Regions from separate parts of the Homo sapiens genome. Here region 1 is linked to region 2. The links are contacts of gene promoters, found by promoter capture Hi-C in human tissues and cell types (Jung and others, 2019). All regions are on one chromosome and are shown on one strand. The core of a region is centred on a gene start or on the middle of the fragment in contact, and the rest is flanking DNA. Distances in the headings are between cores, read along the strand shown.

Region 1 (4,685 bases), core at 617-3,116, 67 kb after region 2:
GCGCCTGGACCAGAGATTGCCTGCTCTTTAATGTTTCTAGAAGATGTTAGAGACTTGCCCCTTCACGACTCAAAAATAAGTAAAAGTTGTGATTAGATAGCACAGTTTGAGGCTCAGGAGACAATAAAAGAGAATATAGCACTTCCTCAGCTTTTGATGCCATCAACTTGGTCAAGGCCATGAAGTTTGGCTGTGGAATGTGTGCCATGAAGTTTGGCTGTGGAATGTGTGCCTGGCCTAGGGTGGGGATGACACCCTCATGCTCAGAGCAGGGGCAAAGCTAGTATTATCGAAGTACTGCTTGGCGCAGCATTTTGTCAGCCATAAAGAGACACTAAAGCCCATTTGTCTAGTCTCTTCTAATTTTCCTACATTTCTATCTCCTTGTGATTAAACAATGCAAAGTAAGGCCCTGCCTAGAATGGAGAGGTGACTCTAATTTTGTAAAGCTTCTAAAATGTTTTGCATATAATTTTGGCAGACACTAAAACAGCACTGGGGAGATACATTTGAAAGATACCTTGTTCCTGCGAATGCCCAGTGTCTGTTTTTCTGTTGGACTATGATAGTTCCTTGAAAGCAGAAACCATATCTTAATCATCTTTGTATTCTAGCACCCAGCACATCAGTAGGTACACAACAAGATAAGTGGGTAAAAGTCGGAGCTCTCTGGGGGAGAAGAGGGAGATGAGTCTAGAAGGATAGAATGCCTCTAAGCAACTCAAGGAGAGTCTTCAATACACATTGGCTAACGTGGTTGATTTTTAAAACAAAAGAAGTATTATTTAGTTGGATATTTGAATCTGAAACTATAACATTACTTAAAGTCTACTAAAGGCCTGCAAATGGGGGACTATGGTAATGAGGCCTCCGTGTGAAATTTATGAACACATCTAACTTAGAGTAGCGCTTAGACTATTGAGAACAGTAGAGACTTACCAATGATCTTACCAAAGTCTCTTGGCATCAGGTGCTCATGCGCACTTAGGGCCAGGGTTGGATCACGGAGAATTCCTGCCTGCGTTCTTGGAGTGCCCAAAGTACCAGCTGCTTGTGGTTTTCATTAAAGATAGATCTATATGCCTTACATGCCAGACTTGCAGATGGCAGAGTTGACTTTCTGCCCTGTAATGTTAACAGCCCTGGCTTTTGTGCTTACATACAAAGGCTCATCCCACAGCTGGGAGGAGGTTTCAGGGCTGCCTAGGAGCAGAGGAAACATTTTTGCTAATTTTTTTTTTTCCTTTTAACATGGCCTAGGCCTTTAATCCACTAATTGTTTATGGCGGCATTAGTCTTCATACTTTTTTACAAAATGTTTTCTTTGAGAGGTATTAAAACTTTGTCAGAGATGGTCACCAGTCTGGCTACTTCTTTTGGCTTACAGTTGGAAGAAAGATTTAGCAAAAATTATACACGAGGAGAGGACATTTTAGCCTGGGCTTCCTGAAAAGGGTGGGGGATAATTTAATTATGTTTACTAATGAAACTCTCAGTAAAGGAGTGTTTGATAGCTGCTTAGATGCCCTACCAGGACTCCATTCAAAAGAGAATTACAGAAACTTTAGAACTGCCAGATCCATTTACCCTGCTGCTTAAAATTCTTTAATGGTTCTTTATAGTCTTTGGGTAATACGCAAACTCGTATGATGTTCAGGCCTCTTCCAATTTGGTCCCAAATTTCCTTTCTAGTGTCTTTATGCAACTCCTCCTCCCATCAGCTTGTTCCCCATCCCTCCAACACCTGATACAACTTCACACCTCTCTAGGGCCCTCTACTATGTTCCCAGAAGGAACTCCAGATTTAAAAAATTGTGGTAAAACATATTCAACATAAAATGTACCATTTGAACCATTTAAAGTGTAAAATTTAGTGCATTAAGTATATTCATAATGTGATACAGCCATCACCACTATCTAGTTCCAGAACTTTTTCACCACTGCTAATGGAAGCTCATACACAGTAAGTATCCACCCCCTTTTTCTCCTCCACACACCAGCCCTTTCTGTCTCTATAAATTTGACTATTATGGATGTTTCATATAAATGGAATAATACAAGATATGGCCTTATGCAGGTGGCTTCTTTTACTTACCATAATGCTTTCAAGATTCGTCCATGTTGTAGCATGTAGCAGTGCTTCTTTCCTTTTATATCACTGAAGACTCTTCCATTGTATGTATATACCACATTTTGTTTACCCATTTGTTTACCCATTCCATTGTATGTATATACCAAATTTTGTTTATCCATTATGAACACTTTGGATATTTCCACCTTTTGACTATTGTGAATAGCTGCTATGAACATCTGTATACAAGTTTCTCAACATCTGTTTTCAATTCATATATATGTGAATTTAAATATGTATTTAGAATACATATAGAAGTTTCAACAAGAGAACATTCAATTTATATAAACATATCCTATATATAATTATATGTATGAATTTATTGAATCCGTCGATAATTTATATGTATACTTGTATATAAATCCATGTATATATACACACACACATGCAATTGGGTTTTGTTTGTATTTTTTGTTGTCAAATTGTAAAAGTTCGTTATGTGTTCTTGATACTAGACCCTCATCTGAAGTATGATTTGCCGATATTTTCTCCCAGTCTGTGGGTTGACTTTTCACTCTCTTGATAGTGTTCTTTAATAAAAGTTTCAAATTGTGCTGAAGTACAGTTTGTCTTTTGAAGTAGCAGTTAAAGTACAATTTTTCTTTTGTTGCTTTTTGGTGTCATATTTAAGAAATCATTACTAAATTCTGTGTCAGGAAGATTTTACTCTGTTTACTTCTAATAGTTGTATAGTTTTAGTTCTTATATTTAGGCCTTTAATTCATTTTCAGTTTATCTTATATACGGCGTAAGGTAAGGGACCAATTTCATTCTTGTGGCTATTCCATTTACTGAGCAGCATTTGTTGAAGAGACAACCTGATATGGTTTGGCTCTGTGTCCCCACCCAAATCCCACCCTGATTGTAATAATCCCCACATGTCAAGGGCAGGACCAGTGGAGATAATTGAATCAAGGGGGGGCGGTTTTCCCCATGCTGTTCTCATGATAGTGAGTTCTCACAAGATCTGATGGTTTTATAAGGGGCTTCCCCTTTGCTGGACACTTCTCTCTCTCTCCTGCCACCATGTGAAGAACTATTAAGGGGTGGGTCTGTGTTCTTAGAGCTCCCAAGATGGTGGCAGGCCACTCCCAAGATGGTGGCGGCTGCTCCCAAGATGGCAGCAAACCTTTTGTTCTCTGACCCGGGGTTCTTGGCCTCACGGATTCCAAGGAATGGAATCTTGGGCCATGCGGTGAGTGTTAAAGCTCTATTAGAAGCCGTGGGTCATGCAAGAGAACCGTGGAACCCAGTGACTAGTGTTCAGCTCGATTAGGATGAACCCGGGTACTTAGCCGTGCAGGAACAATGGCGAGCCTTTAGCCCAGTTGAGAGCAGCAGTGGGCACCTCGCTGAATCAGAAACACAGTGGACACCCTGCCGGATCCTGAGGGGTGGGAGTCAATGGCAGGTCTGCAATGGCGGCAAACAGCAGCGGTGGACAGTGAGTGAAAGCTCAGCTTGAGCCGGAACAAACATGGACCAGAAGAGTGTGCAGTTGCAAGATTTAACAGAGTGAAAACAGAGCTCCCATACAATGGGAGGGGACCCAAAAGGGGTTGCTCACTCTCGGCTCAAATGCCTGGGGTTTATATCCCAATCATTGTCCCTCCCGCTCTGCTCTCAGATGACAGATGATTTGACTATTTCTTTACCTCCTGCTTTTAGCCTAATTGGTATTTTAGTGAGCCCTCTTTACTACCTGATTGGTTGGGTGTGAGCTGAGTTACAAGCCCTGTGTTTAAAGGTGGTTGTGGTCAACTTCCCCAGCTAGGATTAGGAATTCTTAGTCAGCCTAGGAAATTCAGCTAGTCCTGTCTCTCAGTCCCCACTCTCAACAGGAAAACCCAAGTGCTATTAGTTGGCCTAGGAAATCCAGCTAGTCCTGTCTCTCAGAAGGATGTACTTGCTTCCCCTTCCTCCATGATTTTAAGTTTCCTAAGGACTCCCCAGCCCTGTGGAACTGAGTCAATTAAACCTCTTTCTTTTTAAGTTACCGAGTGTCAGGTATTTCTTCAGAGCAGCATGAGAACAGACTAATACACAACCCCATAGTTTCAGTATTTCTCTGGAACACTTTGTTTAAAGAACTTTAGTTCTCCCCAATAATATATCACTTCCTGGCTGCCCTATTAAATAAAGGATTTATTTATAATTTCTCATGGATCCTGGAAAGATCAAACATGTTAAACTCCCATTTTCTGCTCCTCCCTCACTGTACTCCAGCTTATTCGAATTTGTTTTAGTGTCTTTCTCTGGATGCCCAGTATTTTCCACTTAGACCATCTTCTCTCCATCCTCATTGCTATGATTCACTAATTCCATCTGAAAGATTTCAACAACTTGAGAAGAGTCTTTCTCTACAGCTGAATCACTGTTATCATATTTGCAGAATTCAAACACTATGTTGATGACTGGCCTCTCTTCCTTGACTTTCACAATGCCAAGATTTTGGGCTTCCTTTTTTAAAACTATCAGTATATTAGTCAGGGTTCTCCAGAGAAACAAAACCAGTAGGAAGTAGGATACACATTCAGTCATCCCTCAATATCTT
Region 2 (5,236 bases), core at 714-3,213:
AGAAATCCTGACTTTCTACCATGTGGAGTTACTGTCTTGAAATAAAGCACGTGTTTCTTGTCTATATACATGTTTCAGTTTGAGTAAATGTGTATGTGAGTGTATGTATGTGTATTTACCATCTAGATATTTTAATTATTGCTGTATTTGTTTACAAATAGGACAAACTGTTTTTGAAAATTTGAAAAGTTGCAAAGTAACCAAATCTATGTGAATAATAATAGTTTTCGTGTATTGAGCATATGTGACAAGCTCTGTGTTTGGTAGCCCTAATCTCATTTACGTTTCCCAATACAATAGAACTTCTCCCAAAAGCTTACTGTTGCTGTCATTTTACAAATGAGGAAATCTGCTTTTTTTAATTTTTATGTGAAACAGAGTCTTGCTGTGTTGCCCAGGCTGGAGTACAGTGGCATGATCTTGGCTCACTCCGACATCAGCCTCATGGGTTAAAGCCATTCTCATGCCTCAGCCTCCCGGGTAGCTGGGATTACAGATGCACAACACTGTGCCTAGCTATTTTTGTGTGTTTTTTGGTAGATATGGGGTTTCACCAATGTTGGTCAGGCTGGTCTCAAACTCCTGGCCTCAAGTGATCCGCCCTCCTCAGCCTCCCAAAGTGCTGAGATTACAGGCTGAGCCACTGCGCCCAGCTGATGAAATCACCTTTAAAAATGACTAGTTAGGGGCAGAACTAGGATTTGAACTTGGGTCTGTCTGACTTCATTCAGAGCCTGCTTTCAAATTAGACAGCAGCCTCCACCTGTTTAGAGTCAGAGATTTGTATTCCATGGGTGTTATTGAAGCAGACGTATCTCCTGATAATAGCATAGACATTTGGGACAAGGTAAAAGTTTCCCCAATGAGTCTATCAGAAACCACTCTTATCTCTAAAGAAATAAGCCAATTTGTTACTCATTATAGAACTGACTTAAAGAATTCACGAAAAACAGGCTTCCCTCTCTGATGGCTTCATCTTTGTTGAGGCTAAGACTTGAGTGTTCAGTTCAAAACAAAAACGAGAAACAAAATAGCGCAGGCCCTGACCAAAAGGTCCATGTCTAAGGTTGGCACTGACCTTCAGCCCAGGGACATCCCTCCTCTACAGTACTCACTGCCTGTCCAGTCTTTGAGATTCTCACTCTAACCCTGGCAGGACTTCATCTGCTGCCTGGATTCCCAGACTTGGTTGGGGCTCAATAGTGATCCTGACACAAGGAGTGGGAGAATGCATTCACTTACTGGGAGGGCAAGGGGCGCTTGATCCTGACCACAGCCACCTGCACTCCATCCTGCTCGGGCCTCTCCTCAGCCTCTCCTCCATAGCCGCTGTCCTCTGTGTCTACGCTGTCACTCCTCCATGTGGGCTCCTCCTGCTCCATCACTCTCCAGCCCTTGGTTAGCTCAGACACCAGGTTGGCACATTTTCTCCTCCGCGTTGGGGAGCCGTGGCTGTGGAGGATTCTGTCAATGTCATTCTCTGGCTGCCCAGGTTCAAGCACACCAGCATCCCTCTCGTACCTGTGGCTGAGGTGGCTCACGTCCCCTCCTCTCTCATAAGTCTTGCTGACCACCGTTTTGGACACCTCTTTCTTTTTGATGTGAGAAACCTCAGGGGCTTTCTCTGAGCTTTGTCCATCTCCATGTCCTTCTGGCAGGCGGGGTGGCGACTTTGGGGCACTCTGAGCTTTCTGGTGTGAAGTAGGGGGTGTGATTGGTTTAGGAGCTTGAGGTGAGTCCTGGGTCCCTCCCGGCAGCCAGCCTGTAGGCTCCTGGGCCTGCCTGATGCTGTTCTCATTCGCCCACTGCTGCCAACCTCGGGCCAAGCTGATGACCAGGGTGGCTGTGCGTATCTTCCGGAGGGCGCTCTTGGCTGGGCCCTCCCCGCTTTCCTTTTCGCCCGGAGCCATGCTGCCCACCTGTCTTTCTCTGCTGATAGCCTGGACACTGGCTAAAATGAGTGTGGTCCAGTGGAGTGCCTGGGATTTAAATAGAAGCAGGGTGCGGGGTGGGAAGGAGAGCTTAGTGACGATGGAAACTATGTGAAGCATTTCTTGCCAAGATGTGGCGCCTTTGCCCTGATGGTGTTCTTTTTATAAATCATGACAGCTCCAGTTTCATCACGGCAGAGGGACATCTCTGCTGGTAAGGAACAGTGATATGCTCACTCTCTTCTCCAAGTGCCAGAGTGGAAATTACTAGATCAAGTCATGTGCTCAGCCTTACGTTTGTCTGACCTTAATATGGTCCTACCATTTATAGGTGCATACATATTATCCTGGGAACATTATAGGATTGTTCCCACTTAAACCCCAGCAGCCCTCAGTACAGCTCCTAATTAGTTCCACTTTATAGCTAAGTAAAATAAAATCTAACTTCCAGCAGCTAATAAAATATGAGATTCAAATCCATCTCTGTGTAATTCAAAGCGTGTGCCTCCTTTTATTCCAGTTATCAAAGATCCTAAGTTGCCTTTTTCTTTTTCATTCAACTCCATTAGAAATAGACCTTAGAAAATCAACTCATCCAATCTTCATTTTCCAAATGAGAAAATTGAAGCCCAGATACGAGAAAGACCAAAGTCCAGATAGTCAAAGACTAATTACTTTCTAGTCCCAACTTTGAACTATTGTATAGATAACTCATATTAAAATACAAAAAGGGAGTCAAAATTTTGGTCCAATCATTAAAAAATGTTTTTAAAACCTGTATACACATTGGATTTTAGAAATTATTATTGGAGGCCGGGCGAGGTGGCTCACGCCTGTAATCCCAGCACTTTGGGAGGCCGAGGCGGGCAGATCACGAGGTCAGGAGATCGAGACCATCCTGGCTAACATGGTGAAACCCCGTCTCTACTAAAAATACAAAAAATTAGCCGGGCGTAGTGGCGGGCGCCTGTAGTCCCAGCTACTCGGGAGGCTGAGGCAGAAGAATCCTGTGAACCCGGGAGGCGGAGCTTGCAGTGAGCGGAGATCGAGCCACTGCACTCCAGCCTGGGTGACGAGCGAGACTCCGTCTCAAAAAAAAGAAAGAAAGAAAGAAAGAAATTATTGTTGGAATACATATTTTGAAATACTTTGTTTGAAAAGATCATCTAAGGACAGAATTCTAAGGACAGAATAAATGAAAGCTATCGGTAGCTCACTTCTTATCCCCATCCCGCCTACCCTTACCGTTTGGTTTGTGGTTGTTGTTTTGTTTTGTTTTTTGAGATAAGGTCTTGCTGTGTCCCCAGGCTGGAGTGCAGTGGTGTGATGATGGCTCACTGCAGCCTTGACCTCCTGTGCTCAATCAGTCCTCCTGCCTCAGTCTCCCAAGCAGCTGGGAATACAAGCATGAGCCACCATGCCTAGCTAATTGTTTTTGTTTTTGTTTTATATAGACGGAGTCTCGCTATGTTGCCCAGGCTGGTCTCAAACTCCTGAGCTTGTGCAGTCTTCCCACCTTGGCCTCCCAAAGTGCTGGGATGACAGATGTGAGCCCCCACGTCTGGCCCCTTTTGTTTTTAGTAACACAATCTTCCTTAGCAGGACTTTATGTTCATGTAGGCAAAGACAGTTTTTCAACTCTCACAAGAGGGACTGAAATATAATATTTTTTTAAAAGGACTGGAAAGACAAGCATGTGGACAGAAAGAGAAACATCTATGCAGTGTATTAAACCAGATAAAAATGTCCAGGGCTCAGCAATGAATAATTTCTTAAAGTAAGACGGAATTTTTTTTCATTCAACAGGTCTGTTGGCTTTAAAACTATATCCTTTCCTTCAGTCTTGCATGCAAGTAACCATACTGATTGAAAACTGCTGTTTAAGAGCACAAAAAGGTATAAAAGTTAATTATTTCAGAGAGTGAGACATTTATTTTGGAAAAAAGTTGGTATTAGTTTTTTGTTGTTGTTGTTGTTTTGTTTTTTTGTTTGAGACGGAGTCTCGCTCTGTCGCCGAGGCTGGAGTGCAGTGGCGCGATCTCGGCTCACCGCAAGCTCCGCCTCCCAGGTTCACACCATTCTCCTGCCTCAGCCTCTGGAGTAGCTGGGACTACAGGAGCCCGCCACCACGCCCGGCTAATTTTTTTGTATTTTTAGCAGAGACAGGGTTTCACCGTGTTAGCCAGGATGGTCTTGATCTCCTGGCCTCGTGATCCTCCTTCCTCGGCCTTCCAAAGTGCTGGGATTACAGGCGCGAGCCACCGCGCCCGGCCGCTATTCGTTTTTCATCGTGTGGGTTATTTACCTCTTAGGATAAAAAAAATTGGGAAGTGATTTAATACTTAATCTACAGATCTGTCAGAGGTGTTTCCAGAGTTCAACGGCATCTGATAACATTAACTGAGGGCCAGAAATGCGGAGAAAAAAAAAAATCCCTCTTGATTAATTAAGAGGAAATTGGATCACAAGGAAAGAAAACTATTACAAACAAAGATTTCAATCTGAGCCTGAAATTTCTGGCATTCCTCCCAGCAATGCAGATTCACTGCAGCCTGTTTGGTTCTTATCAGAATCTCTTCATCCCACTTGGAAGGTCTTAGGAAAAAATAGAGTTCCTCTAAGACACCCATACGCTTAGCCCAGAATCAGGATAATTTATAGCTTTCAACGGGATTTTCCTGCTTGCCTGTCCACACCTGCCCCAGATTCAGTCCTGATAGAGGGAGAAGAAAGGGAAACAGCAAATGTTAACAGTCTTTCACGTATTAACTGGCATTGCAGTCAGCTACTGGGGTTTGGGGATGTCAGCAGATGGTCTTGGCTGAAAAACAGGAGCAGCTTCTAAAAGAACCTAGTCATTCCTTCTGAGATTTAGCCTCCATGGCAACTGCAGTCCTTCATTCATCACTCTACAGAAGAGAGTGTAAAATCGTTTTCCTCCTCACGCGTGCTTTGGGCCTTTCTTCCCTAAAGCAAGGTCTGTATGCTACCTCCCATACATCTTTGATTACTATAGAAATATTACGTTCATTGTCTCAATCGAAATTCAAATTCTTGGGAGTTCTAGATTTTCCTGTTTCATTTATGTTAGAAATGAAAATAAAACCTCAAAGACAAAAATAAAATGAATTAAGTGTTTTACAATGGGAGCTTCCTAGGAAACCTTGAGATTTGAAACTGTTTGTGAAGATGCAGACCTGATTAATGAGATCATTATCGCCTAAGAAGTCTGTCATAAGTGAGAAAGTATCTTGAAAATAGTATTTGTTATTTTTTGATCATATGAATAGTAGAAAGAGGAAGGA

What was found. Contacts are between HindIII fragments. The study calls those that stand out against the background at their distance.
Region 1: a contact is called between a fragment that was not itself captured here and the fragment with the promoter of ABRA in region 2, in 4 of the 25 tissues and cell types used here (mesenchymal stem cells, mesendoderm cells, neural progenitor cells and 1 more).

What each region holds. Positions count from the first base shown.
Region 1 is chr8:106,835,843-106,840,527 of GRCh38, forward strand. No RefSeq gene overlaps it. Among named protein-coding and RNA genes, the nearest start is that of ABRA, 68 kb to the left of the region's middle. The HindIII fragment of the contact is 7,877 bases long and covers 1-4,685 here.
Region 2 is chr8:106,768,281-106,773,516 of GRCh38, forward strand. ABRA (actin binding Rho activating protein) reads right to left here and starts at 1,964. Exons shown (of 2, transcript NM_139166.5): 1 at 1,243-1,964. The coding sequence starts at 1,910. The HindIII fragment of the contact is 12,258 bases long and covers 1-5,236 here.